Linked DNA regions of Homo sapiens: regions 1, 2, 4, 5, 6 and 7 are each linked to region 3. The links are contacts of gene promoters, found by promoter capture Hi-C in blood cells and fetal thymus (Javierre and others, 2016). All regions are on one chromosome and are shown on one strand. The core of a region is centred on a gene start or on the middle of the fragment in contact, and the rest is flanking DNA. Distances in the headings are between cores, read along the strand shown. Region 1 has its middle 36 kb from the start of LPCAT1. Region 2 has its middle 27 kb from the start of MIR4277. Region 3 holds the start of TERT (telomerase reverse transcriptase). Region 4 holds the start of ZDHHC11 (zDHHC palmitoyltransferase 11). Region 5 overlaps TRIP13 (thyroid hormone receptor interactor 13). Region 6 has its middle 58 kb from the start of MIR4277. Region 7 has its middle 11 kb from the start of MIR4277.

What was found. Contacts are between HindIII fragments. The CHiCAGO score rates a contact against its expected background, and 5 or more counts as called.
Region 1: a fragment that was not itself captured here is called in contact with the fragment with the promoter of TERT in region 3 in 1 of 17 cell types (total B cells); the score reaches 5.5 in total B cells.
Region 2: a fragment that was not itself captured here is called in contact with the fragment with the promoter of TERT in region 3 in 1 of 17 cell types (neutrophils); the score reaches 5.2 in neutrophils.
Region 4: the fragment with the promoter of ZDHHC11 here is called in contact with the fragment with the promoter of TERT in region 3 in 2 of 17 cell types (erythroblasts and monocytes); the score reaches 5.3 in erythroblasts.
Region 5: a fragment that was not itself captured here is called in contact with the fragment with the promoter of TERT in region 3 in 4 of 17 cell types (fetal thymus, M1 macrophages, non-activated CD4 T cells and 1 more); the score reaches 8.2 in fetal thymus.
Region 6: a contact is called between a fragment that was not itself captured here and the fragment with the promoter of TERT in region 3, in 8 of 17 cell types (M1 macrophages, neutrophils, naive CD8 T cells and 5 more). The highest score is 7.3, in M1 macrophages.
Region 7: a contact is called between a fragment that was not itself captured here and the fragment with the promoter of TERT in region 3, in 2 of 17 cell types (total B cells and neutrophils). The highest score is 6.1, in total B cells.

What each region holds. Positions count from the first base shown.
Region 1 is chr5:1,558,008-1,561,335 of GRCh38, forward strand. No RefSeq gene overlaps it. Among named protein-coding and RNA genes, the nearest start is that of LPCAT1, 36 kb to the left of the region's middle. The HindIII fragment of the contact is 918 bases long and covers 1,030-1,947 here.
Region 2 is chr5:1,679,928-1,683,374 of GRCh38, forward strand. No RefSeq gene overlaps it. Among named protein-coding and RNA genes, the nearest start is that of MIR4277, 27 kb to the right of the region's middle. The HindIII fragment of the contact is 6,095 bases long and covers 1-3,447 here.
Region 3 is chr5:1,293,818-1,297,409 of GRCh38, forward strand. It overlaps TERT (telomerase reverse transcriptase), which reads right to left and starts at 1,251. Exons shown (of 16, transcript NM_198253.3): 1 at 954-1,251; 2 at 1-849. The coding sequence starts at 1,172. RefSeq lists promoters at 811-3,592, 811-1,502, cis regulatory regions at 816-1,172, 1,175-1,207, 1,277-1,285, 1,297-1,305, enhancers at 1,199-1,241, 1,212-1,928 and silencers at 1,338-1,407, 1,508-1,597. The HindIII fragment of the contact is 13,041 bases long and covers 1-3,592 here.
Region 4 is chr5:849,352-852,964 of GRCh38, forward strand. ZDHHC11 (zDHHC palmitoyltransferase 11) reads right to left here and starts at 1,635. Exons shown (of 13, transcript NM_024786.3): 1 at 1,030-1,635. The coding sequence starts at 1,251. RefSeq lists enhancers at 327-978, 979-1,628. The HindIII fragment of the contact is 1,490 bases long and covers 620-2,109 here.
Region 5 is chr5:900,237-903,756 of GRCh38, forward strand. It overlaps TRIP13 (thyroid hormone receptor interactor 13), which reads left to right. Exons shown (of 13, transcript NM_004237.4): 4 at 258-313; 5 at 1,105-1,195. Among named protein-coding and RNA genes, the nearest start is that of TRIP13, 9.1 kb to the left of the region's middle. RefSeq lists a silencer at 2,858-3,152. The HindIII fragment of the contact is 227 bases long and covers 1,825-2,051 here.
Region 6 is chr5:1,649,509-1,652,972 of GRCh38, forward strand. No RefSeq gene overlaps it. Among named protein-coding and RNA genes, the nearest start is that of MIR4277, 58 kb to the right of the region's middle. The HindIII fragment of the contact is 4,657 bases long and covers 1-3,464 here.
Region 7 is chr5:1,696,144-1,699,383 of GRCh38, forward strand. No RefSeq gene overlaps it. Among named protein-coding and RNA genes, the nearest start is that of MIR4277, 11 kb to the right of the region's middle. The HindIII fragment of the contact is 3,672 bases long and covers 57-3,240 here.

The DNA of each region.
Region 1 (3,328 bases), core at 239-2,738, 260 kb after region 3:
CTATTACATCTGCAGTGACTTCCTTCACTGAAGGCTGGAATCCCTGAAAGTCATCCATGAGGATTGGAATGAACCTCTTCCAAACGCCTGTTCATGCTGACACTTTGACCTCCTCCCATGAATCATGAATGTTCTTAGTGGCATCTAGAATAGTGAATCCTTTCCAGAAGGTTTACAATTTACTTTTCCCAAATCCATCAGAGGAATCACTAACTATGGCAGATACAGCCTTAAAAAATGTATTCCTTAAATAATAAGGCTTGAAAGTTGAAATGAGTCCTTGGGCTGTGGAATGGGTGTTGAGTTAGCAGGCATGGAAACAAGATTCATCTCCTTGTTCATTTCTATCAGAGCTCTTGGGTGACCAGGTGCATTGTCGGTGAGCAGTAATATTTTGAAAGGAATCTTTTTTTCTGAGCGGTAGTTCTCAACAGTGGGCTTAACATAGTCAGTAAACCGTGCTGTAAACAGACATGCTGACATCCAGGTTTTCTCGTTGCATCTATAGAGCAAGGCAGGGTAGACTGAGCATGGTTTTTAGGGGCCCTGGGATGTTCAGAATGATCCATAAGCATCGGCTTCCAATGAAAGTCACCACTGCACCAGCTCCTAACAAGAGCGTCAGCCTGTCTTTGAAGCTTTGAAGCCAGGCACTGACTTGGCCTCTCTAGGTAGGAAAGTCCTAGATGGTGTTCTTCCAATAGAAGGCTGTTCTATCTACATTGAAAATCTGTTGTTAAGCGCAACCACCTTCATCAGTGATCTTAGCCAGATCTTCTGGACGCGGAAGGTAACTTGCTGCAGCTTCTCCATCAGCACCTGCCGCGTCACCTTGCGTTTTTATGTTATGGAGACGGCTTCTTTCCTTAAACCTCATGAACCCACCTCTGCCAGCTTCCACTCTTCCTCTGCAGGTTCCTCGCCTGTCTCAGCCTTCACAGAATTGAAGAAAGTTAGGGCCCTGCTCTGGACTAGGGTTTGGCTTAAGGGAATGGTGTTGCTGTTTTGACTGTCTATCCAGAAAACAAAAGCTTTCTCTGTATTAGCAACAAGGCGGGTTCACTTCCCATCATTCATGCACTCTCTAGAACAGCACTTGTGATCTCCCTTAAGAACTTTTCCTTTGTCTTCATTACTTGTCTCACTGGTGCAGGCCTCGCTTAGCTTTCAGCCTATCGCAGCTTTCAACCTGCCTTCCTTGCTAAGCTGAATCATTTCTGGGTTTTGATTTAAAGTGAGGCGTCGTGGCTCTTCCTTTGAGCACTCTGAGGCCATGGAAGGTTTAGTAACCGGGCCAATTTCAATATTGTTGTGTGTCAGGGAACAGGAATGATTGGGAAGAGGGAGAGAGGTGGGGGAACGGCTGACTGCAGGGGCAGCTAGAACACACCAAACATTTATTAAGTTTGTGTCTTATATGGGTGCAGTTCATAGCACCCAAAACAATTACGTCGGTAACATTGAAGATCCCTGATCACAGATTGCCACTGCGTATATAATACTAATGAAGAAGTTTGAACTGTGGCAAGAATCACCAAAATGTGACCCAGAGCCACGAAGGTGGCACACGCTGCTGGGAAAACTGCGCCCGTGGAATTGCTCCACGCCGGTTGCCACAAACCTTCAGTTTGTAAAAAAAGTAACATCCATGGAGCAAAATCAAGCAAAACACCACAAGACAAAGTACACCTGTATAGCTCTCTATAGATCTACATTTTTAAATACATAGATCTATATAATTTATATAATACTTACATAATATCTCTATATAGTATATATTAGGTATGCAATATTGATTATACAGAGCTACATGTAGATCTATAAATTATATACATAGCCAATATTTTAAAACATATAAGAATGACTCTTTATAATGGCAGAAGACATAAATGTCCCCTCCTTTTCTATCTATGAATCTGGAATCTGACAGAGAAACCAACCCTCACAAGCTTTCGTCGTACGATGGGCCTGGCTTCACTGAATCCTATCTATGAACCTGGAATCTGACAGAGAAACCAACCCTCACAAGCTTTTGTCGTACGATGGGCCTGGCTTCACTGAATCTGCATCTTATGTCACACTTATTGCCAGCAGGACCTGCCTAGTGACATTTAGCTGCCCTTCGAGTGGGCTGGCACCAGATGGAAACTGGACATAAGCTTTCGTGAGAGATCGTGTGCAGTTCCTGAGCTTTGTGTTACCAGATACTGTCTCTTCTCAGATGAGGGTCAAATTGAAATTTCATTACAGAAACCACCAGTCGCCACTGTTGAAGTTCAGAAGGGGTCCACCTAGTAAGGAAGGAGACCACTACTACTCCTGCTGCCCACCTTGCCTAGTTCACAAGACAGGAGGAAAGAGAGAAAGCAAAGAGTTGGAAAGAAACAAAAGTAAGATAAATAGCTAGATGACCTTGGCACCACCACCCAGCCCTAGGAATTAAAAAATAATAATAACATCAACCCCTGACCTAAACTACTTGTGTTATCTGTAAATTCCAGACGTTGTATGAAAAAGCATCGCGAAACTTTCTGTTCTGTTAGCTGATGCATGCAGCCCCCAGTCACGTTCCCCACGCTTGCTCGATTTGTCACGACCCTTTCACGTGGACCCCTTAGAGTGTAAGCCTTTAGAAAGGCCAATAATTTCTTTTTCAGGGAGCTCGGCTCCTAAGACGCAAGTCTGCTGATGCTCCCGACTGAATAAACCACTTCCTTCTTTTTTTTTTTTTTTGAGACAGAGTCTTGATCTGTCACCCAGGCTGGAGTGCAGTGGCATGATCTCGGCTTACTGCAAGCTCCATCTCCCAGGTTCACATCATTCTCCTGCCTCAGCCTCCCAAGCAGCTGGGACTACAGGTGCCCACCACCACGCCCAGCTATTTTGTATTTTTAGTAGAAAGGGGGTTTCACCATGTTAGCCAGGACGGTCTTGATGCCCTGACCTCGTGATCCACCCATCTCAGCCTCCCAAAGTGCTGGGATTACAGACATGAGCCACTGCACCCAGCCAAACCTCTTCCTTCTTTAAGCTGGTGTCTGAGGAATTTTGTCTGCGGCTCGTCCTGCTACACTGGGATAGCCTTTCCTGGATCCATGAAATGAGAATTCAGTGAGTCAACTTTCAGGGTAACAGGATTTTAAGACATCTTCATTTATGTAAAAGAAATCCCATTCACAAACATTCCATTTTCAGTAACTGTGTTAATTGTAAATGACTCTTGTACAGTCACTAGAGCAGGCATCGCAAAAACATTGGTGCCTCGTTTTCTCATTGATAAATATGCATGAAAGTCGTCTGTTTCAACGATGCAGACAAAGATACAATG
Region 2 (3,447 bases), core at 97-2,596, 390 kb after region 3:
CAATCTTGTTACTCATTATTGGTCTGTTCAGGTATTCTGTTTCTTATTGGTTCAATCTTTGTATGTTGTATGTCATCGATTTCTTCTAGGTTTCCCATTGATTAAAATATAATTGTTCCTAGTAGCCTCTGATGGTCTTTTTTATTTCTGTGGTATTAATTTTAATGTCTCCTTTTTGTTTCAGATTTTGTTTATTTGGGTCTTCTTTCTTTTTTCTTGGTTAATCTGGCTAGCAGTTAATTAATTTTGTTTATCTTCTTTAAAAAACTCTTTTCATTGATTTTTGTTTTTTTTAGTCTGTATTTTGTTTAGGTCTGTGCTGATCTTTGTTATTCTTTTTTATCTATGATTAAGTAATTTTGGATTTGGTTTGTTATTGCTTTTTTAGTTCTTTGAGGTTTATCATTGGGTTGTCTATTTGAAATCTTTCTGCTTTTGTGATGTAAGTGTTTATTGTTGTAAACTTACCTTTAGCACTGATTTTGCTGTGTCACATAGGTTTTGGTGTGCTGTGTTTCCATTTACATTTGTTTTAAGAAATTCTTTGATTTCTTTCTTAATTTCTTCATTGACCCAATAGGCATTCAGAAACATATTGTTTAATATCCACATATTTGTACTGTTTCCAAAGTCCTTCTTGTTATTGATTTCCAGTTTTATTATGTTGCAGTCTAAGAAGATACTTGATATAATTTTGATTTTTAAAAATTTGTTGAGACTTGTTTTGTGGCCTAACTTATGGTCTATACTGGAGAATGGCCCATGTGCTGATAAGAAGAATGTGTATTCTCTAGCCATTGAATGAAACATTCTGTAAATGTTGCTTAGGTCCATTTCATCTAATATGCAGTTTTAATCCAACATTTCTTTGTTGATTTTCTGTCTCAATGATCTGTCTAATGCCAGGAGTGGAGTGTCGAAGTCCTCAAATATTATTGTATTATAGTCTATCTCTCCCTCTAAATACAACGTTTGCTTTATGTATCTGGGTGTTCCCGTGTTGGGTGCATATATATTTAGAATTGTTATATCCTCTGGCTGAATTGAACCCTTTTAAATTATGTCATGACCTTCTTTGTCTTCTTTGACTGTTTTTGACTTAAAGTGTTTTATTAGGTCATTGTTGCATTACTATAAAGAAAGAAATACCTGAGACAGGGTAATTCATAAAGAAAAGAGGTTTAATTGGTTCATGATTCTGCAGACTATACAGGAAGCCTGGTGCTGGCATCTGCTTGGCTTCTAGAGGAGACCTCAGGATGCTTACAATCATGGTGGGAGATGACAGGGAGCAGGCACATCACATGGCTAGACCAGGAGCAAGAGAGAGACAGCCGGGGGTCAGGGAGGTGCCACACACTTCTAAATGATTGTATCTCATGTGAACTCAGAGCAAGAACTCACTTATCACCAAGGAGATGGCCCAAGCCATTTATGAGGAATCTGCCTTCATGATCCAGACATCTCCCACCAGGCCTTAACTCCAACATTGGGGATTACATTTCAACATAAGATTTGGGTGGGGAAAAAAATCCAAAGTATATCAAGTCTGTTTTATCCGATAAGTATAGCCTGGTGGCAGCAGGCCAGTCATGTCTGTCTTTCAGCCCCTGGATGATACAGGTGAACACTAGTGTTAGTGGGTCCAGGTGGGCTGATTCTTGGACCTCCAGGCAGTTTGCTTGGGTGCCAGTGGCTAGTGTCCTGGGACTTTTTTCAGGCCTCTTGATGGTCTGGACACATGTGCATGGTGATAGACAGGGTGAGTGGACCCAGGGTGTCACTGGGGATCTGGAGATGTGAAGAGGCAGGGGCTGCTGGGCCCCAGGTCAAAATGCAGCCTGGTGGCAGCTGGGCTCTCAAAACAGTGCTGTGCTGCAGCTGCTTGGGTCCCTGGGAGTATGTGGGACCCTGCATGAACTTCCTCTCAGGAACAGTGGTGTCACATGGACTCCAGGCAGCTCTCTGTACTAGACTCAGTGCCCATGAGGCTGAGGGGCTCTCCTGTGACTCGGATTGCAGGGTCTGTGGTCGGGATGTGGAGCGTGGGAAATCTCACACGGACACTTTCCAGGCTCCTTGCCAGTCCCAGCCAGGGAAGTGACTTGCTACCCTCTCCTTCCGTGCCTCAGATTTCCCCTGCCGTGTCCCTCCTGGTCTCTAGTGTCCCTCCTAGATGCTCCACTTGACACGTGGCTATCTGCTCTCTGCTTTGGTCCTTCTTTGTGGATGGGGTGAGTGTCAGCGGCCTCTAGTGTTCCTTTGGAGCCATCTTGAAGATCCCTCCCAAAGTAATGATTTTTTTTTTCACAAAGTCAATTCAGAATTCTATATCTAGTTAAAATTTCCTTATAGAAATAAGGCAAAATAAAGTGAATTCCAGCTGATACCAGCTTTTACTACCAGCAGAACTGGTAATTCAAAAATCATTAAGGCGGGGCGCGGTGGCTCACGCCTGTAATCCCAGCACTTTGGGAGGCCGAGGCGGGCGGATCACGAGGTCAGGAGATCGAGACCATCCCGGCTAAAACGGTGAAACCCCGTCTCTACTAAAAATACAAAAAAAATTAGCCGGGCGTAGTGGCGGGCGCCTGTAGTCCCAGCTACTTGGGAGGCTGAGGCAGGAGAATGGCGTGAACCCGGGAGGCGGAGCTTGCAGTGAGCCGAGATCCCGCCACTGCACTCCAGCCTGGGCGACAGAGCGAGACTCCGTCTCAAAAAAAAAAAAAAAAAAAAAATCATTAAAGGCATTTCTTCAAGGTAGAAAAAGAAAAAGATAGATCAAAACTCCATCTACTTGAAGGAATTAAGACCATTAGGAATAATAAATATGTGCGTAAATTTAAAATATTCTAAACATTCTTTCAGTGTATTAAAATAATGATTGACAATTTAAAGCAAAAATGATGACAATGTATTGGATAACATATAGCATATGTAGATGTACAACGTATGTCAAAATTAGTGTAAAGGTCAGGAAGGAGGAAATTGAAGTACGTGGTTATATTTTTATACACGCAGTGGTGTAATGTTTTGCAAAGGTAAACTGGATAAAAGATACATTGAACCATCAAAACTACACAAATAAAATGAAGAGTAATCACTAATATGTCAACAGAAAGCAAAATGAAATGCTGAAAAATACCCAATCCATATGGTTGCAGAAAAAGAAACAAGAAAGAACAAATGGCACTAAGAAAACGCACAACAAGATGATGGACTTAAATTCAGCCTATGAATGATGAATTAAATAAACTAAACACACACATCTAAATGCAGATCTAATTCAACTAGGAAATAGTGCTGTCTATCAGCAACAGTTTTTAAACATAAGGGTGAAAGGATGGAAGATGTTATATTATTCAAACACTAAATATAAACAAGCTGGGGTAGTATAATATTAATATCAGGACAATGAGAGACCTTTCAATAAAAAGACGTGATAAT
Region 3 (3,592 bases), core at 1-2,500:
GCCAGTCAGGCTGGGCCTCAGAGAGCTGAGTAGGAAGGAGGGCCGCAGCTGCTCCTTGTCGCCTGAGGAGTAGAGGAAGTGCTTGGTCTCGGCGTACACCGGGGGACAAGGCGTGTCCCAGGGACGTGGTGGCCGCGATGTGGATGGGGGGCCCGCGTGGTGCTGGCGGCCCACGGATGGGTGGGAGTGGCGCGTGCCAGAGAGCGCACCCTCCAAAGAGGTGGCTTCTTCGGCGGGTCTGGCAGGTGACACCACACAGAAACCACGGTCACTCGGTCCACGCGTCCTGCCCGGGTGGGCCCAGGACCCCTGCCCAACGGGCGTCCGCTCCGGCTCAGGGGCAGCGCCACGCCTGGGCCTCTTGGGCAACGGCAGACTTCGGCTGGCACTGCCCCCGCGCCTCCTCGCACCCGGGGCTGGCAGGCCCAGGGGGACCCCGGCCTCCCTGACGCTATGGTTCCAGGCCCGTTCGCATCCCAGACGCCTTCGGGGTCCACTAGCGTGTGGCGGGGGCCGGGCCTGAGTGGCAGCGCCGAGCTGGTACAGCGGCGGCCCGCACACCTGGTAGGCGCAGCTGGGAGCCACCAGCACAAAGAGCGCGCAGCGTGCCAGCAGGTGAACCAGCACGTCGTCGCCCACGCGGCGCAGCAGCAGCCCCCACGCCCCGCTCCCCCGCAGTGCGTCGGTCACCGTGTTGGGCAGGTAGCTGCGCACGCTGGTGGTGAAGGCCTCGGGGGGGCCCCCGCGGGCCCCGTCCAGCAGCGCGAAGCCGAAGGCCAGCACGTTCTTCGCGCCGCGCTCGCACAGCCTCTGCAGCACTCGGGCCACCAGCTCCTTCAGGCAGGACACCTGCGGGGGAAGCGCCCTGAGTCGCCTGCGCTGCTCTCCGCATGTCGCTGGTTCCCCCCGGCCGCCCTCAACCCCAGCCGGACGCCGACCCCGGGGAGGCCCACCTGGCGGAAGGAGGGGGCGGCGGGGGGCGGCCGTGCGTCCCAGGGCACGCACACCAGGCACTGGGCCACCAGCGCGCGGAAAGCCGCCGGGTCCCCGCGCTGCACCAGCCGCCAGCCCTGGGGCCCCAGGCGCCGCACGAACGTGGCCAGCGGCAGCACCTCGCGGTAGTGGCTGCGCAGCAGGGAGCGCACGGCTCGGCAGCGGGGAGCGCGCGGCATCGCGGGGGTGGCCGGGGCCAGGGCTTCCCACGTGCGCAGCAGGACGCAGCGCTGCCTGAAACTCGCGCCGCGAGGAGAGGGCGGGGCCGCGGAAAGGAAGGGGAGGGGCTGGGAGGGCCCGGAGGGGGCTGGGCCGGGGACCCGGGAGGGGTCGGGACGGGGCGGGGTCCGCGCGGAGGAGGCGGAGCTGGAAGGTGAAGGGGCAGGACGGGTGCCCGGGTCCCCAGTCCCTCCGCCACGTGGGAAGCGCGGTCCTGGGCGTCTGTGCCCGCGAATCCACTGGGAGCCCGGCCTGGCCCCGACAGCGCAGCTGCTCCGGGCGGACCCGGGGGTCTGGGCCGCGCTTCCCCGCCCGCGCGCCGCTCGCGCTCCCAGGGTGCAGGGACGCCAGCGAGGGCCCCAGCGGAGAGAGGTCGAATCGGCCTAGGCTGTGGGGTAACCCGAGGGAGGGGCCATGATGTGGAGGCCCTGGGAACAGGTGCGTGCGGCGACCCTTTGGCCGCTGGCCTGATCCGGAGACCCAGGGCTGCCTCCAGGTCCGGACGCGGGGCGTCGGGCTCCGGGCACCACGAATGCCGGACGTGAAGGGGAGGACGGAGGCGCGTAGACGCGGCTGGGGACGAACCCGAGGACGCATTGCTCCCTGGACGGGCACGCGGGACCTCCCGGAGTGCCTCCCTGCAACACTTCCCCGCGACTTGGGCTCCTTGACACAGGCCCGTCATTTCTCTTTGCAGGTTCTCAGGCGGCGAGGGGTCCCCACCATGAGCAAACCACCCCAAATCTGTTAATCACCCACCGGGGCGGTCCCGTCGAGAAAGGGTGGGAAATGGAGCCAGGCGCTCCTGCTGGCCGCGCACCGGGCGCCTCACACCAGCCACAACGGCCTTGACCCTGGGCCCCGGCACTCTGTCTGGCAGATGAGGCCAACATCTGGTCACATCCCGCCCGCACAGGGTGGAGGGCAACCTCGGGGTCCAGGCACCTGGCTCCAAGCCTCGGACTGCAGAGCTAGGAGGCCCGACTTCCAGCCCAGCAGTAGAAGCCACACGGCCACTGGTCCCCTCCAGACCTGGGGCCCCGGCACAACCGCAGGACAGCTGAGGACTTCCCAGGAATCCAGACTCCGGGTTGCTCAAGTTTGGATCTAAGGGGCGAGAAACTTCTGGGTCTCCCGAGGCCTTGCAGGGATGCTGTAGCTGAGGTCGGCAAACACTGAAATGCTAACAAACGCAACCTTAAATGTAACCTTTCCTACTTTCAGAAACTGCCGGAGGAAATTGCTTTATTTATGGAGCTAGCATTTGAACAGGCCTCGCACCCTCCCTGGGCTGTCACGCTCGCTGGAGGTTAGCCTCGTCTTGTAAATACTTAGGATTACAGGTCGCTCTTCTAGAAATCCCCTTAGTGATCCCTAAGCCTTTTTAAAGGGCTGTGTTTGTGAATTGTCTCTGCCACTAGGGCAAAGGGGCGGTTTGGAAAATTTGTTCCAACAAAAGTTAAGTTGTAGCTTACACTGGTTCTCTGCAGAGAAGCCAACATAGAAAACACAATTTTAAAAGAGGGAAGAGAAGAAATGGAAGCAGAAGATTATGCTGGAGTAATTAACACCATGTGCATGGCGAGGAAACGCCTCCCGGCATTCAATGAAGATCGCTGATACCCAGAAGACACCCCAGTATTATGGGTGCAGTTAGTGTGTCTTTGAAAAGCTGATGATGTCTTAGTCATCACAGTGTAAAACATCAAGAGTGTTCTAACAACAATAAAAAAATTCTATCATTGGCTTAAAACACCACAACACTTGAGTGGGGTGAGCTTCCTACCTCAGACCCAGATGTTTCTAAACAGAGTAAATTCTGAGCTGGGCATGGTGGCTCACACCTGTAATCCCAGCACTTTAGGAGGCAGAGGCAGGTGGATCATCTGAGGTCAGAAGTTCGAGACCAGCCTGGCCAACATGGTGAACCCCACCCCCACCCCCGTCTCTACTAAAAATACAAAAAATTAGCTGGGCATGGTGGCGGGTGCCTGTAATCCCAGCCAAATGGGAGGCGGAAGCAGGAGAATCACTTGAACCTGGGAGGCAGAGGCTGCAGTAAGCCAAGATCGCGCCATTGCACTCCCTCCAGCCTGAGCAACAAGAGTGAAACTGCCTCTCAAAACAAAACAAACAAACCAACAAATGAAACAGTGGATTCAGTACCAGCAGTGAAAAATAACAAAGTATCATTCCTTCCTCCACAGGAGTGAGAGGAACTCCTCTGCCCCTGGGGGGGGATAGGGAAGGGGCTCAATCCCAGTAGAGTAGGAGGGATGGACTTTAATTTCTACATGTTTCAGCACACACTGAGACATTGAGATTCAGGACAGTGTCCACACTCGCGCCCTGATTCTACATCAGGTTTCTACTGGCAGAT
Region 4 (3,613 bases), core at 385-2,884, 440 kb before region 3:
CACAGGAGGGACATCCCAGGTATAAACACAGCCGGATGCAGCCCCAAAGGCCCTGGAGGAGCCTGGGTTCTTTCATACCAGAGACCCCTGAGCACTGGGAGAGAAGACAGCCTCAGACAGGAGGAGCAGGGGGAGGAGCGAGGGAGCTGCACAACCTACCCGCTCCCTGTAGACCCCAGACAGCTCACTCAGGGACCCTCTCCCCGAGAATAGCTCAGGGAAACCCCCCTCAGACTCCCTCAGGGCCCCTCCGGACTCTCTCGGGGACTCCAGACTCTCTCGAGGACCCCAGACTCACTCAGGGACCCTGGGCCTCTTTCTTGGGCCCTCTGGGCTCAGAGCCTGGCTGCGGGGGCACTGGGGAGAGGATCCTTGTCCCCTGGAGCCAGGAGAAGCTGGGCTCCCCGTGCCTGGGACGTCAGCTCCCGCCCTCAGATCCTGGCTCCCTCCTCCTCTCACCCTGGGACAAACACAGACTCTCCATGGCAACCAAATAGAAGGGGTGGAGTGCGGGGCCCTCCAGTCACCCTGCCTGGCCCCTGGACCGCCTTCTAGCCAGGAGTTCAGGGTTGACAGCCATCTCCGCAGGGCAGCCCAGAGGCCCTCGCAGTGTGGCCTAAGCTTGGCATGGAAACGCAGGCTGCCGACCTGCGGGGCATGGCGCTGTTCCTCCTTGGCACCAGGGGCAAGGAGAAAGGTGCTGGCCATGTGCAAAATGCTGCGCAGGGATTTTAGCGGAAGGCTGCCAGCAGGGCGGGTCCTGCGCCACGCCAGGGGGCTGCTGTCCCTCCTGACAGATTCCCTCTCCGGAGCCCCCTCAGCCAACGCTGTCCTGTCCTGACCCTAAGCAGGGGCTGCACAGAGCATGAGTGGCCACTGGGCCCACCTGCAGGCTCAGGGGACATAGTCTGGCCCAGGGCAGGTGACTGGTGCCACCGGGCAGCCATGGCCCAGACCCCACAGCCAGGTCCATCGCAAGTTCCTCCAGGAACCCCTCCCGCTTAGACCATGCCACGATGAAAAGGATACCACGTAGGCAATGTATTTCCACGCGTGAGGCAGGAAGGGAATGAAGATCCCGAAGGTGGCCGAGGAAAGGCCCACGAAGACAGCCCAGGTCACCACCTGGAAGTAGTGCAGGGGTAACGACCAGCCGTTCACTCTGGAGATGCGGGGCGGCAAGACCAGCTTTTCATTATTGAGTATGGCTTCTGGGGTGACGGAACACTGGCTCCCGGAGCGGGTGTCCATCTGCAGGACACAGAAGGGGAGGACCTGCGCCGTCAGATCCTGGGAGGGCCGGCCCCGCCCACTGTCACAGAGACCAAGGGGACTGGGAATGCAGCCGCCAGGACCAGCACTGACAGCCAATGGCCCAGCACTGCCTGGGGCCACGTTCCCCGCAGAGGGAGCAGGGGCTGGGCTGGAGTCGGTGCAGGGCCCCGCCCAGGGGAATGAACAGACATGCTGCAGAATGTGACCCCGGCCAGAGCCGAGTGGCAACGGAAAACGGCTCTCCAGGGTGTGGAGGACCCAGTGCCCGCGCGACCGCCCATCAGTTCCCCTGAGGATTTGTTACGTTCTGGGGAGTGCTCGACAGCCCCCACACAGCGACAGGTCCCACAACCCGTTCACGAATACACAGGCCCACCCAGGACTCCCCAGGTGCAAGAAGAAAACCCACGTCAGAAAGAGGCCACACTGAGCAGAGGGCTGCGCCTGTGAGAAACTGAGGCAATGCCTGAAGAGCTCGTGAGCCGTTACTCACTGGTGCAACACTGAAACCTGCCAGATCCTCCCTGAGAGGCTTCTCTGAGCTTCCCAGAGGAGCAGGACCCGAGAGCTCACTTCACAGGGTCCTGTGTGTCTCCCCTTCCACAGGACAGGGAAGCCCGTCCAGCCACGCGGGGCTGGGGTCTCCGCCCGGGTGGACAGTGGCTGGGAGGTTCTGAACACGCTGCGGCTGCTCCTGGCCAGTCAGGTGGGGAGGGCGGCAGGGGTGGGAGGGACGTGGTGTCACAGAGCGGCAGTGAAAGACACTCAACGGCCGCTACGGGGTGGGGGGTTGATCTTGAGGGGCTGGGCGGTCTCTACAGAGGAGGGTTAGGAAGCTTCGCCACGTTATGCCTCGCTCAAAGTCCTTGTTGTCTCTTTGGGAAAAAACCTTCAGAAAATGAAGTTGATATTAAATGTATTTCTTTGAGAAGAGAGACATTGAGAAATAGTTAACAATTCTTCGTTCTTGCAGTCGTGAACGTCCATGATACAGTGGCTCTGCGCTGCCTTTGGTGGCTCCTCCCTGGTCCTCTAAATGTGACACCAGGCGGATGCGGGGCCACAGGACCCTGGGGCTTGAGTCACACAAGAATGTCTCTGGGAGACCCGAGAGACTCACAGTTATGAAACAGGACCATGGTTCTTTGGCCGGGCGCGGGGGCTCACGCCTGTAATCCCAGCACTGTGGGAAGCCGAGGCGTGCCTATCACCTGAGGTCAGGAGTTCCAGACCAGCCTGGGCAACACGGCGAAACCCTGTCTCTACTAAAAATACAAAGATTAGCAGGGCATGGTGGCACATGCCTCTAATCCCAGCTACTCGGGAGGCTGAGGCATGAGAATCGTTTGAACCTGGGAGGTCGAGGCTGCAGTGAGCCAAGATTGCACCACTGCATTCCAGCCTGGGCAACAGAGGGAGACTCCATCTCAAAAAAAAAAAAAAGAAAGAAAGAAAAGTCAAAGTTACCAAGGAAGGAAATAGAAACACAGAAAGACAACCCTGTACATTAAAAACACAATTCCCAGTTAAAAACAAAACCCAAATGAAAGTGCCAACAAACAGAAATGATGTCGCCAAGTCACATTGGTAAAACCTGGAATATCAAATCCAGGAAGGACCACAGATCTTAGAGAGGAGAAGAGGGGAATCGCTCAGCGGCCTTGAGCCTTGAGCCTGGAGACAACACGTTCATCTGTCAGGATTTCAGAACAGAAAGGTGGAGAGTCTGTGAGAGAAAAAAGAAAACACTGAAGAACTTTGAGAAGACTGAAGACTTCAGGTCGAAACTGTGCACCAAGAGCTGGAAAGGATGATTGGAAAAAGTAATACATCCAAATTAGAGAAAATGTGAGCAAGCCAGGGAGACAGACCCCACAGAGGACAACGAGCAGCGGGGACAGACTCCACAGAGGACAGTGAGCCAGGGGGACAGACCCCACGGAGGACAATGAGCAGCGGGGACAGACGCCACGGAGGACAGTAAGCTGGAGGTACAGACTCCACAGAGGACAGTGAGCAAGGGGGACAGACCCCACGGAGGACAGCGAGCCGGGGGGACAGACCACACGGAGGACAGCGAGCAGCGGGGACAGACCCCACAGAGGACAGCAAACCGGGGGACAGACCCCATGGAGGACAGCGAGCCGGGGGAAGAGACCCCACGGAGGACAGCAAGCAGCGGGGACAGACCCCACGGAGGACAGCGAGCCGGGGGTACAGACCACACGGAGGACAGCGAGCAGCGGGGACAGACCCCACGGAGGACAGTGAGCAGCGGGGACAGACCCCGCGGAGGACAGCGAGCCGAGGGGACAGACCCCACGCAGGACAGCAAGCA
Region 5 (3,520 bases), core at 688-3,187, 390 kb before region 3:
AAGTGTAATTCTTTGACTCCATCCAGTTGTCTGCCAGAAGTTACATGTGACTGGCATTTATTTTGCATCTTTGATTTTAATAAAAATCAAAATTTGAAGAAAAATTTGCAGAATTTATACTTTCCTGTAATCAGAATCATAGTCTTGCCTGGAGCAGCACAATGGGAAGCTCAGGCTTAGGCTCAGGGGAGACTGACTGGGGGTGGCTGTAATTGCTTGCCTTCCTGAAATCAGGTCTTTGTTTAATTCTGTCACAGCTGAATTCCATGGGCTTTGGGACAGCTTGGTATACGATGTGGAAGTCAAATCCCATGTAAGTTGCTGTGCCTTTTCCCAGAATGCCCTGTTATTTGAAGAGGAACCATTACTGTTTTGCTCTCCAACACCCCTGAGCAACTTGATGCAGATGGGTTTTTGGGAGCCCCTGTCTGCTGGCAGCCCTTGTCCTGGACATCTATCCTCTAGTATTGCTCCAGAGTAGAGCTGGTCTCTGAGGAGCTCCCTGAGGGAGAAGAGGGAAAGGGAGAACGTGAAGGCAACTTAGAGAATTAAACCCTCTGGAGATGGGAGGAGGGAAGGTGAGCAAGCCTGGTCCGCACAAAGGAAAGGCCGGTGTGTCTTAACCCCTGCACCCTCTTCAACGGGAAGGGTCTTTCCCATGCCAGCAGCTGGCTAGAAGACTATCACTCAGCTGTCCTCTGCATTGATAGTCTGAGACTATCACTCAGACTGCTCCTCTGCATTGTGGCTGTTGTTATTTTGCGAATAATAACTGCTGTATCATTCTAGGGAAGGAGCTTACTCATTACTTGATAAACAAACCCCTTAGTGGTTTTGTTTAATGTTGGCACTTTAAATAAAAGTGATCATTTTGTTGCTCTTCTTATATTTATAATAGTAATAGCCAGTGTTTTTCCTTTTCCCTTTTGGAAGCACCTTCTCTTCTGAAATGAAAGCGTTTGGAGGTGATGATCTCTTAGGAGGCGGCCTCGCTCCCTGTGCTCCCTCTTCTCATGTAGGATTAAGCCCTGGGGGAGGGCACATTTCTTGGGGACCTTTGCCTTGTTGGTATCTTTGTCAAGCTCTTTTCTTTTTCTCTATCAGCTCCTCGATTATGTGATGACAACTTTACTGTTTTCAGACAAGAACGTCAACAGCAACCTCATCACCTGGAACCGGGTGGTGCTGCTCCACGGTAAATTATGCAGGCTTTTATTTGACCAGATAAGTGGCATGAAATTTAGCCTTTACTTGTACCTTCGTCCTTCTGCAAGGAGTTACGGCTCTTTGTTTTCTGAAGGAGCCACAGCTGTCCTAGAATGTCCCCTCTCTGTGAAGCAGATCCAGCTCATGACACTTGGGACATTTTTTGTTTGTTTGTTTGTTTTTGTTTTTGAGACAGAGTCTCGCTGTCGACCAGGCTGGAGTGCAGTGGCCCGATCTCGGCTCACTGCAACCTCCACTTCCTGGGTTCCTCCCAGGTTCCAGCAACTCTCCTACCTCAGCCTCCCGAGTAGCTGGGATTACAGGCATGCGCCACCACACCCAGCTAAGTTTTGTATTTTTAGTAGAGACGGGGTTTCACCACGTTGACCAGGCTGGTCTCAAACTCCTGACCTCAGGTGATCCGCCCGCCTCAGCCTCCCAAAGTGCTGGGATTACAGGCTTGAGCCACCGCGCGCGGCCCCTGGGGCATTGATTACTCGGCACTTAATCAAGTCTTCCTGTGGGGGGCCACATTCCAAGACATCCTCAGATGCCCCAAACGTGGATAATACTAAACCTTATGTAGACTATTTTTTCCTACAGACATTCCTATGATAAAGCTTAACTTATAAATTAGGCTTGTAGTACTCAGAGCTTTACTTTGTGAGGAGTAAACTGAAAAAGCCATATTTTAAAGAAATTCTGTCTGGTTCTTCTCAGGAGAAAATACTGATGGTTTGTTGTTTGGTTTTGTTTTGTTTTGTTGTCAATATCACCGGGTAGAATGGGGACACGGGAATTGAGTGGACTCGAGAGTATGAAACTGTAGCCAAGTGTTAAATAGAAGCTTGAAGGGTACTTGGCTTCTTTAAGTCAGTTAAGATTGCGTGACAAAGTGACCTTAAAACACAATGTTCTTTTAAAGAGCAGACAGGCCCCGCATACTGCCCTCATAGCACAGTCAGAGTAAGCAGCAGGTGTTTTAATTAGTGAAATAAGTTGTTTCTGTTTGGAACCAGTTACGTATTTCCTCTTTAATTCTTGAAAATACCTGCAGAAAATTAGAGTTGTATGTCTCCATTTTCTGTTAGATGCTTTCCTTTTTCCATATTGGTCACCTCGCAGCTTCTGTGAGGCATCTTTTGTAGGGTCCAGCCCCACAGGGTTGGTGAGTTTTCTCCCCATGTGCAAAGACGAGAGAGTGTAGAAATAAAGACACAAGACAAAGAGATAAAAGACAGCTGGGCCTGGGGGACCACTACCACCAAGACGCGGAGACCGGTAGTGGCCCCGAATGCCAGGCTGCGCTGATATATATTGGATACAAGACAAAGGGGCAGGGTAAGGAGTGTGAGCCATCTCCACTGATAGGTAAGGTCACGTGGGTCACGTGTCCACTGGACAGGGGACCCTTCCCTGCCTGGCAGCTGAGGCAGAGAGAGAGAAGAGAAACAGAGAGACGGCTTACACCATTATTTCTGCATATCAGAGACTTTTAGTACTTTCACTAATTTGCTACTGCTAGCTAAAAGGCAGAGCCAGGTGTACAGGATGGAACATGAAGGCGGACTAGGAGCATGACCACTGAAGCACAGCATCACAGGGAGACAGGCCTCTGGATGACTGCGGGCGGGTCTGACTAATGTCAGGCCCTCCACAAGAGGTGGAGGGGTAGAGTCTTCTCTAAACTCCCCGGGGGAAAGGGAGACTCCCTTTCCCGGTCTGCTAAGTAGCAGGTGTTTTTCCTTGACACTGACGCTACCATTAGACCACGGTCAGCTTGGCAGCGGGCTTCTTCCCAGACGCTGGCATTACTGCTAGACCAAGGAGCCCTCTGGTGGCCCTGTCCAGGCATAACAGAAGGCTCGCACTCTTGTCTTCTAGTCACTTCTCACTATGTCCCCTCAGCTCCTATCTCTGTATGGCCTGGTTTTTCCTAGGTTATGATTGTAGAGCAAGGATTATTATAATATTGGAATAAAGAGTAATTGCTACAAATTAATGATTAATATTCATATATAATCATATCTAAGATCTATATCTAGTATAATTATTCTTATTTTATTTATTTTATTATACTGGAACAGCTCGTGCCCTCGGTCTCTTGCCTCGGCACCTGGGTGGCTTGCCGCCCACATCATGCTAGGGGACGCTTGGCAGGCAGGCGTGCAAGAAGAGTGCTGGCCTCTGCCTCTTCTAGTATGGGGTATGAGCCCACTGAGAATTGTCTTAGGAAAGAGGGTGGTTCTGGGGGCAACAGGAATAACACATGACCCCTCCACCTCCATTTATCAAGAAAGGTGTGTTTGATCTC
Region 6 (3,464 bases), core at 372-2,871, 360 kb after region 3:
GCTCTCACAGAGGCAGAGAGTTGGCTGGTGGTTCCCAGAGGCTGGGCAGGGTGTGTGGGTGAGAGGCAGACAGAAAGTGAGGCTGGTTACGGGGCACAAACATGCAGTCAGGGGAAGGAGTAAGTTCCAATGTTCCATAGAACAGTTCACAGACCAAAGGCAACAATCATTTACTGTTTCCTTCCTTCCTTTCTTCCTTCCTTCCTTCCTTCCCTTCCTCCCTCCCTTCTTTCTTTCTCTCTCTCTCTTTCTCTCTTTCTTTTCCTTCTTTCTCTTTCTTTCTCTCTTTCTCTCTCTCTCTCTCTTTCTTTTTCTTTCTCTCTCTCTCTCTTTCTCTCTTTCTTACTTTCTTTATTTCTTTTTGACAGAGTCTCACTCCAGGCTGGAGTGCAGTGGAGGCATGATCTCGGCTCACTGCAACCTCCGCCTCCTGGGTTCAAACGATTCTCCTGTCAGCCTCCCGAGTAGCTGGGATTACAGGTGTGTGCCACCATGCCTGGCTAATTTTTGTGTTTTCAGTAGAGACAGGGTTTTGCCATGTTGGCCAGGCTGGTCTCGAACTCCTGACCTCAGGTGATCCACCTGCCTTGGCCTCCTAAAGCGCTGGGATTACAGGTGTGAGCCACTGCACCTGGTCCGCTGTATATTTCAAAATAGCTAGAAGAACTGGAATCTTCCCAACAGAAAGAAAGAGTAGATGTTCCAAGTGATGGATATACTACATACCCTGATTTGATCACTACATGCTGTGTGCACAATCAAAATATCACAACTGCCCTGTAAATATGTACAATTATTATGTATCAATAAACACTTTTCAAAAAATTTTAGATTTGATTACAAAGACATTAAACCCTGTGACACTTCAAAAAACACCATAACAAAACAAACAAAATCCAACAAAAACCGGAAGCACGCTGTGACGGTTTTGACATCTGATGTCCTCAGTGTCTAGAGGTCTTACGGGAAGAAGGAAGGCGCAATCGAATGAAGTTAGATGTGGAAATAGAATCACAACAACCCAGGAAGATGCAATTTGAGTTTTAACGATGAATTTAGCAATTTGCTTAAAAATAGTAATAGTCAATGTTGGCAAATATTCAGAGGAATATGCGTTTTCAGATACTAGTAGCAAAAGTATCAGCATAATTTTGTTCTGGAGAGGGGTTTGGTAATATGCACCAGAAGCCTTCCAATGTGGCTGACCTAGCAATGCTGCCTTTAGGGTGATAAACTGGCAAGTGGTCAAAATCCGCTCTGTGGCCTGTTGCTGCACGGCCAAGAGCTCGGAATGGTCCGTTACTGTGAAAACGATTAGCGAATAAGGAAGAGTGTGCGGTGGAGACCATCTTCCCCGTCCCCGCCCCCAGCACAATACTGACTCTCTAGCTGTCTGCAGAGCACGTTTGCAGACCCCTGATCTATGTGGAGGAGTAAACAAGTAAACAACAAAACGGTCCAGGTGTTCATTTTGCAGCATTTAGAAAATGTTGGTAAAAATAAAATAAAGAAATAAAGGGCCTAAATGTCCGTCTTTCCAACCTCATGGAAGTAGTTCAATCGATTCTGGCAAATGCAAATCCTGTCGTGTTCGGCAGCCGCTACAGGTAGACAGTGCTGCTGAAGAACTTCCAGTAACATGAGAAAACACTCATGAGAGGGTCGTGCTAAGTGAGAGCATTAAGTTATACAGACGACTTTATTCCAATTTTAATTTGAAGGTGTGTAAATAGAAAGAAATGGAAAGAAAGAAAATACTTGAACATCTTAATTACTGGGTGTTCATCCCGGGTGTGGGGAAGCAGGGGCTTCGGGTGAGGGTGGTGGGGGGTATGAGGAGTTTGGAGGTGGGTGGGAGGGGATCCCTAAAGTGACAGAGTCCTGGGAGCCCAGGGCTTGGAAGCTCACCACCTGGCAGTGCAGCCATGGGATCCAGACAGCTTCGCTGGACAGACGCACCGTGAGGGCTGGGGTGGGTCCTGGGGAGGGCAGGGCCAGAAAAGGGTGGGGCTGGGGAGAGTGGGGTCAGGGGAGGGCGGGGCTGGGGAGGGATGAGGCCTGGGGAGGGGTGAGGCCTGGGGAGGGTAGGGCCTGGGAAGAGTGGGGGATGGGGAGGGGTGAGGCCTGGGGAGGGTAGGGCCTGGGAAGAGTGGGGGATGGGGAGGGGTGAGGCCTGGGGAAGGTGGGGCTGGAAGAAGGTAGGGCTGGGGAGGGGTGGGGCTGGGGGAGGGATGAGGCCTGGGGAGGGGTGAGGCCTGGGGAAGGTGGGGCTGGGGAGGGGGGGGCCACAGAGGGCAGGGCAGGGGTAGGGCAAGGCTGGGGAGGGATGATGCCTGGGGAGGGGTGGCCTGGAGATGTCAGGGCTGGGGAGGGTAAGGCTGGGGAGGGATGAGGTCTGGGGAGGGGTGGGGCTGGGGGAGGACCGGCCTGTGGGGCAGGGCCTATGGGGGCATGGGGCCTGGGTCCTCGGGGCCTGGGACAGTGTCACTCTTCCCTTCCTTGGCTCATCCTGTGACCCGAAGAGCCTCTGCCAGGCCCTGGGCTCCTGCTGAGCTCCTGCTGAGAACAAGGCAGCCTGGTTTTTCTTTGATCTCCTGCCCCGAAGGTTGATGAGGGGATGGAGGGTCTGGAGCAATGGCCCAGACAGGGTGGAAGTTCCCTGGGGAAGAAGGGGGTGCCTGGAGTGGGTGGGTGGTCAGGGACCTTTCGAGAGGAGGGGTCTCAAGGTGAGGGCTCCTCAGGCCCCCGAATGTGGGGCAGGGTGGGTGCACAAGCAGAGGCTGTGGGGGAGGTGCTGGGCAAGGGAAGGGCAGGGCCCATTCTTAGGAGGAGCCTGAGAGTGGGACAAGAACAGATAAATTCTCAGGGAGAATGGGGTCCCTCGCCATGGGGGGTCCTGGAACAATCCATGGCGGCCTGTCCCTCTGCCTGCTCCCACCACAGTTCCGTGCTTCTCCAGAGGGCCAGGCTGGCCATGCTGTCCCTAACCCACTCCAGGGACCACATGAGTGTAACAGGATGTAGGAGAGAGCCAGGGCTTGGAAATCCATGATCTGGCCGTGTGGCCATGGGATCTGGCCAGCCTCGCAGGATGCTGTGAGGTGGGGCGAGGGCCGGGTGCAGGGAGGATGCTGTGGGTCTCCCAGGTGCCCTGTGCAGGACAGCAGCCAAGTGCTCCCAGGGGCCACCCTATGTCACACCCAGTGTGGGGGGCCCTGAGGGCAAAGGGTCCAGGGGAGGATATCAGGAGTGCCCTCCCTGTTGGAGGCTGGACTGGCCCTCCTTCCCCACAAGTGGGTTTTAGGTTGGGGCAGGAGGGAGGGACTTAGGAATGAACACGATCAGAGTAGACTCTGCTCCTGCTTCCTTGGGCCCCCACCAGCCTGGTGACTTGCTGGGGGGACACGAGGAAGATGGGGCGTGGCTGAGGCTTGGGCGGTGGGGAAGAGCCAGCTTGGGCCGGG
Region 7 (3,240 bases), core at 643-3,142, 400 kb after region 3:
ATCTTACAAATGTGGTGGGATTTTTTTTTCTTTACTTTTTAAAAACCAATATGGCAAGCTTGGTCATAATGAAGTTAGTCCTTTAAATTTACTTATATTCATAGTTGAATGGTCATTCTAAAATCTTATAATTTATTTTCTGTTTATTCCATGTGTCTTCTTTACTTTATTTATCCCCACTTTATTGGCACTATAGTTATATATTTTTTATTTCCCTATAGTTTATTATTTGCATAGTTGAAGTATAAAAACCTACCTTAGGCCAGGCACAGTGGCTGACGCCTGTAATTCCAGCACTTTGGGAGGCAAAGGCAGGAGGATTGCCTGAGCCCAGGAATTTGAGAGCAGCCTGGGCAACAAAGTAAGACCCTGTTCTCTACAAAAGATGTTAAGAAAAATAAGCCAAGCATAGTGGTGGGCACCTGTAGTCCCAGCTACTCAGACGACTGAGAAGGAGAATCACCTGAGCCTGGGAGGTTTTGGCTGCAGTGAGCCATGATTGTGCCACTGCACTGCAGCCTGGGTGACAGAGCGAGACCCTGTGGGGGGAAAAAAAACAAAAAACAAAACAAAACAAAACACCTACCTGAAACGAATACTTTTATCACTTCCCAAGCAGTTGAAGGATCTTATGAGTGGTCTGTCGTGCCCCCGCTCGCATTTCCTTTAATGCCATTGTAGTCATATATTTTACTTCTGTGTTCGTTGCAAACACCAGAAGATCACTTTAAACAATCCATACACTCACACTGCCCCTAACAGTTATCCTTTGTGGTGCTCTTCATTCCTTTCATCCTTTCCCCCATGAACATTTTCCTTGAGCTGAAAAATGTGGCTTTAGTATGCCTTGTAAGGCAAGTATGTTGCAGATAAATTTTCTCAACTTTTTAAATAACCACATCTTTATTCCACCTGCATGATTTAAAGCAGCAGTCCCCAACATTTTTTGGCACCAGAGATTACTTTTAATGGCAAAAACCGCAATTACTTTTGAACCAACCTAGTAATTATTACATTGTATTATATACTGAAATAATTATACAGCTCACTATCACGTATAATCAGTGGGAGCCCTGAGCTTGTTTTCCTGCAACTCGATGGTCCCATCTGGGAGTGATGGAGACAGTCACCCCCAAAGTGTGTTGCTTATGTCCGGTGTACTCTGTAATCTCGTTTTGGTTGCTGTCACTGCAGAAAACTCTGCTTCACAAAGACAGGATGTTGGGCATGGAAGCAGGTTTTTCAGTGCGTTTGTGGCAATCTCAGGATATTCCACCTTGACTTTAGTCCAGAACATATGGAGATTTGAAGTTGTCTCAAACACACTTGTAAGGCCACCATTATTTGTGATCTCAAGCAGCCGACCCTCTTCTAGCAAGGACAAAGTCGATTCACCTGGCTTATTCACAAATGGGTCACGGATCCATTCCTTCCCAGTTCGGGGTTCTTTTGTAGTTGGGAAGTAATGCTCAAGCTCTTTTGGAAGCTGAAAGGTGATCATGCACCAGCTGGGGGAAAGAAGGCCCTGGCTCAGTCTCTTTCCAAACAAAACCTCCGCTAATGTTTGAAACATGTCAGAAGTCCCAGTGTTCACTCATTGACCCATAATTCCAGTCTGACTTTTAATGCAGCCACTTTATCTCCTGACTTGAACACAGTTGTCCCTCTCCCTGAAGTGACGGTTTGTGTTGCTGGTTGAATATGTCACACAAGTAAGCAACATTTGTAGCCCATTCTATGTCACTGAAATGTGTTGCCAGTGGTGACTGTTTTTCTAAAAGAAATCTCTGGAGTGGCTCTCATAACTCAAAATCTCGGCCAGTGATCTACCTTTAGAAAGCCACCTCATTTCTGCATATCAGAGGAGCCATCTCACTCCTGTCACACATGTGTCACTGTAAGCACATGTATTTCAGAGAAGACGTGTGTGCTCTGCATCCGTCTCCTCACAGAGCTGCGTGAACAGACATGAGTTAAGGGCATGTACTTTAATGAGGTTGATAACTTTAATCACATACTGCAAAACTTTATTAAGTTGAGGCAACATTTTCCAGCTACCCAGCATTTCTCTGTGGATGACACAGTGCATAGACTTACATCCAGAAGCGACCTCTTTGACACAAGTAGTGAAACCAGAAAGCCATCCAGTCATGGCAGCCACTCCCTCTGTGTGTACACTGACACAAAATGGCCAGTTCAGTTTTCCTGATACATAATCATTGAAAGACTTGAATAGTTCTGCAGCTGTGGTGTTGGTTGGCAACAAAAGTGCACCTAACATAACCTCGTGCACAGCCTCCTGAAAACGGATCTCACAACAACAAGCATTGTTGCCTTGCTGTCAACATCAGTAGACTCATCAGCCTGGCTTGTGTACCACGGTGACTCATTAATCGTCTCTGACAATTGTGCCTCAATATCCTCTGGAATTTTCTCAATTCCTCTAGGTACGGTGCTAGCCAAAAGAGGAACACGTGCCACCTTTTGAGCTGCAGCCTCTCCTAAAAGTTCACGACAAATGTCCTTAGCGCAGGCAAGATCAGCTGTTCACCAACAGTAAAGGGCTTCTTAGCTTTAGCAATGCAGTTAGCCAGTAAGAATGATGCTCTCAGTGCAGACACATTTGAAGTGGTGGCCTTCAATCATTGCTTCTGTTCTTCGTGGTCACACTTTTCTTTTTTCCTTTTGAAAAACTCCAAAGGCTGGTCTTTTAACGCAGGGTGCTTGGTCTTCATATGGCGAAGCAGTTTTGAAGGTTTCATGGCTTCATTGGATAGTCATCACATATTACATTGCAAGTGGGCTTGGAAAATGTGAATCACCTGTTGGAATGAACCTGCAATTTAAGTGGGATTCGTGGTATTTTCTATTAAATGCAGCTTGCTTCTCATTGGCAGTCATAGAGTCTTCTGCTGCCTAACCATTGGGACTTTCCCCCTTTTCAAAGCCCTCCTGTGATGTTTCTTTTTTACTCGTTTTGGCTAGGGTTAGCTCGTGGGCTTACCAAAACTGTGACTGAGACAAGCGTGCAGTGCGGGAAAGAGGCATGAACAGAAGTGGTAAATAAAATAATGGGTGGGCCTCACATGGACTAAAATAAGTGTAGGATTCCAACTTAAAGCCTGCCACCAGATGCAGCTTAATTGTCACTTGCCAATCACTAATAGGGTTTTGCTATGAGTCTGCAACCAATTGATTTATTAGGGTCTCTGTGCAGTCAGACCTCTCTGCTAATGTTAA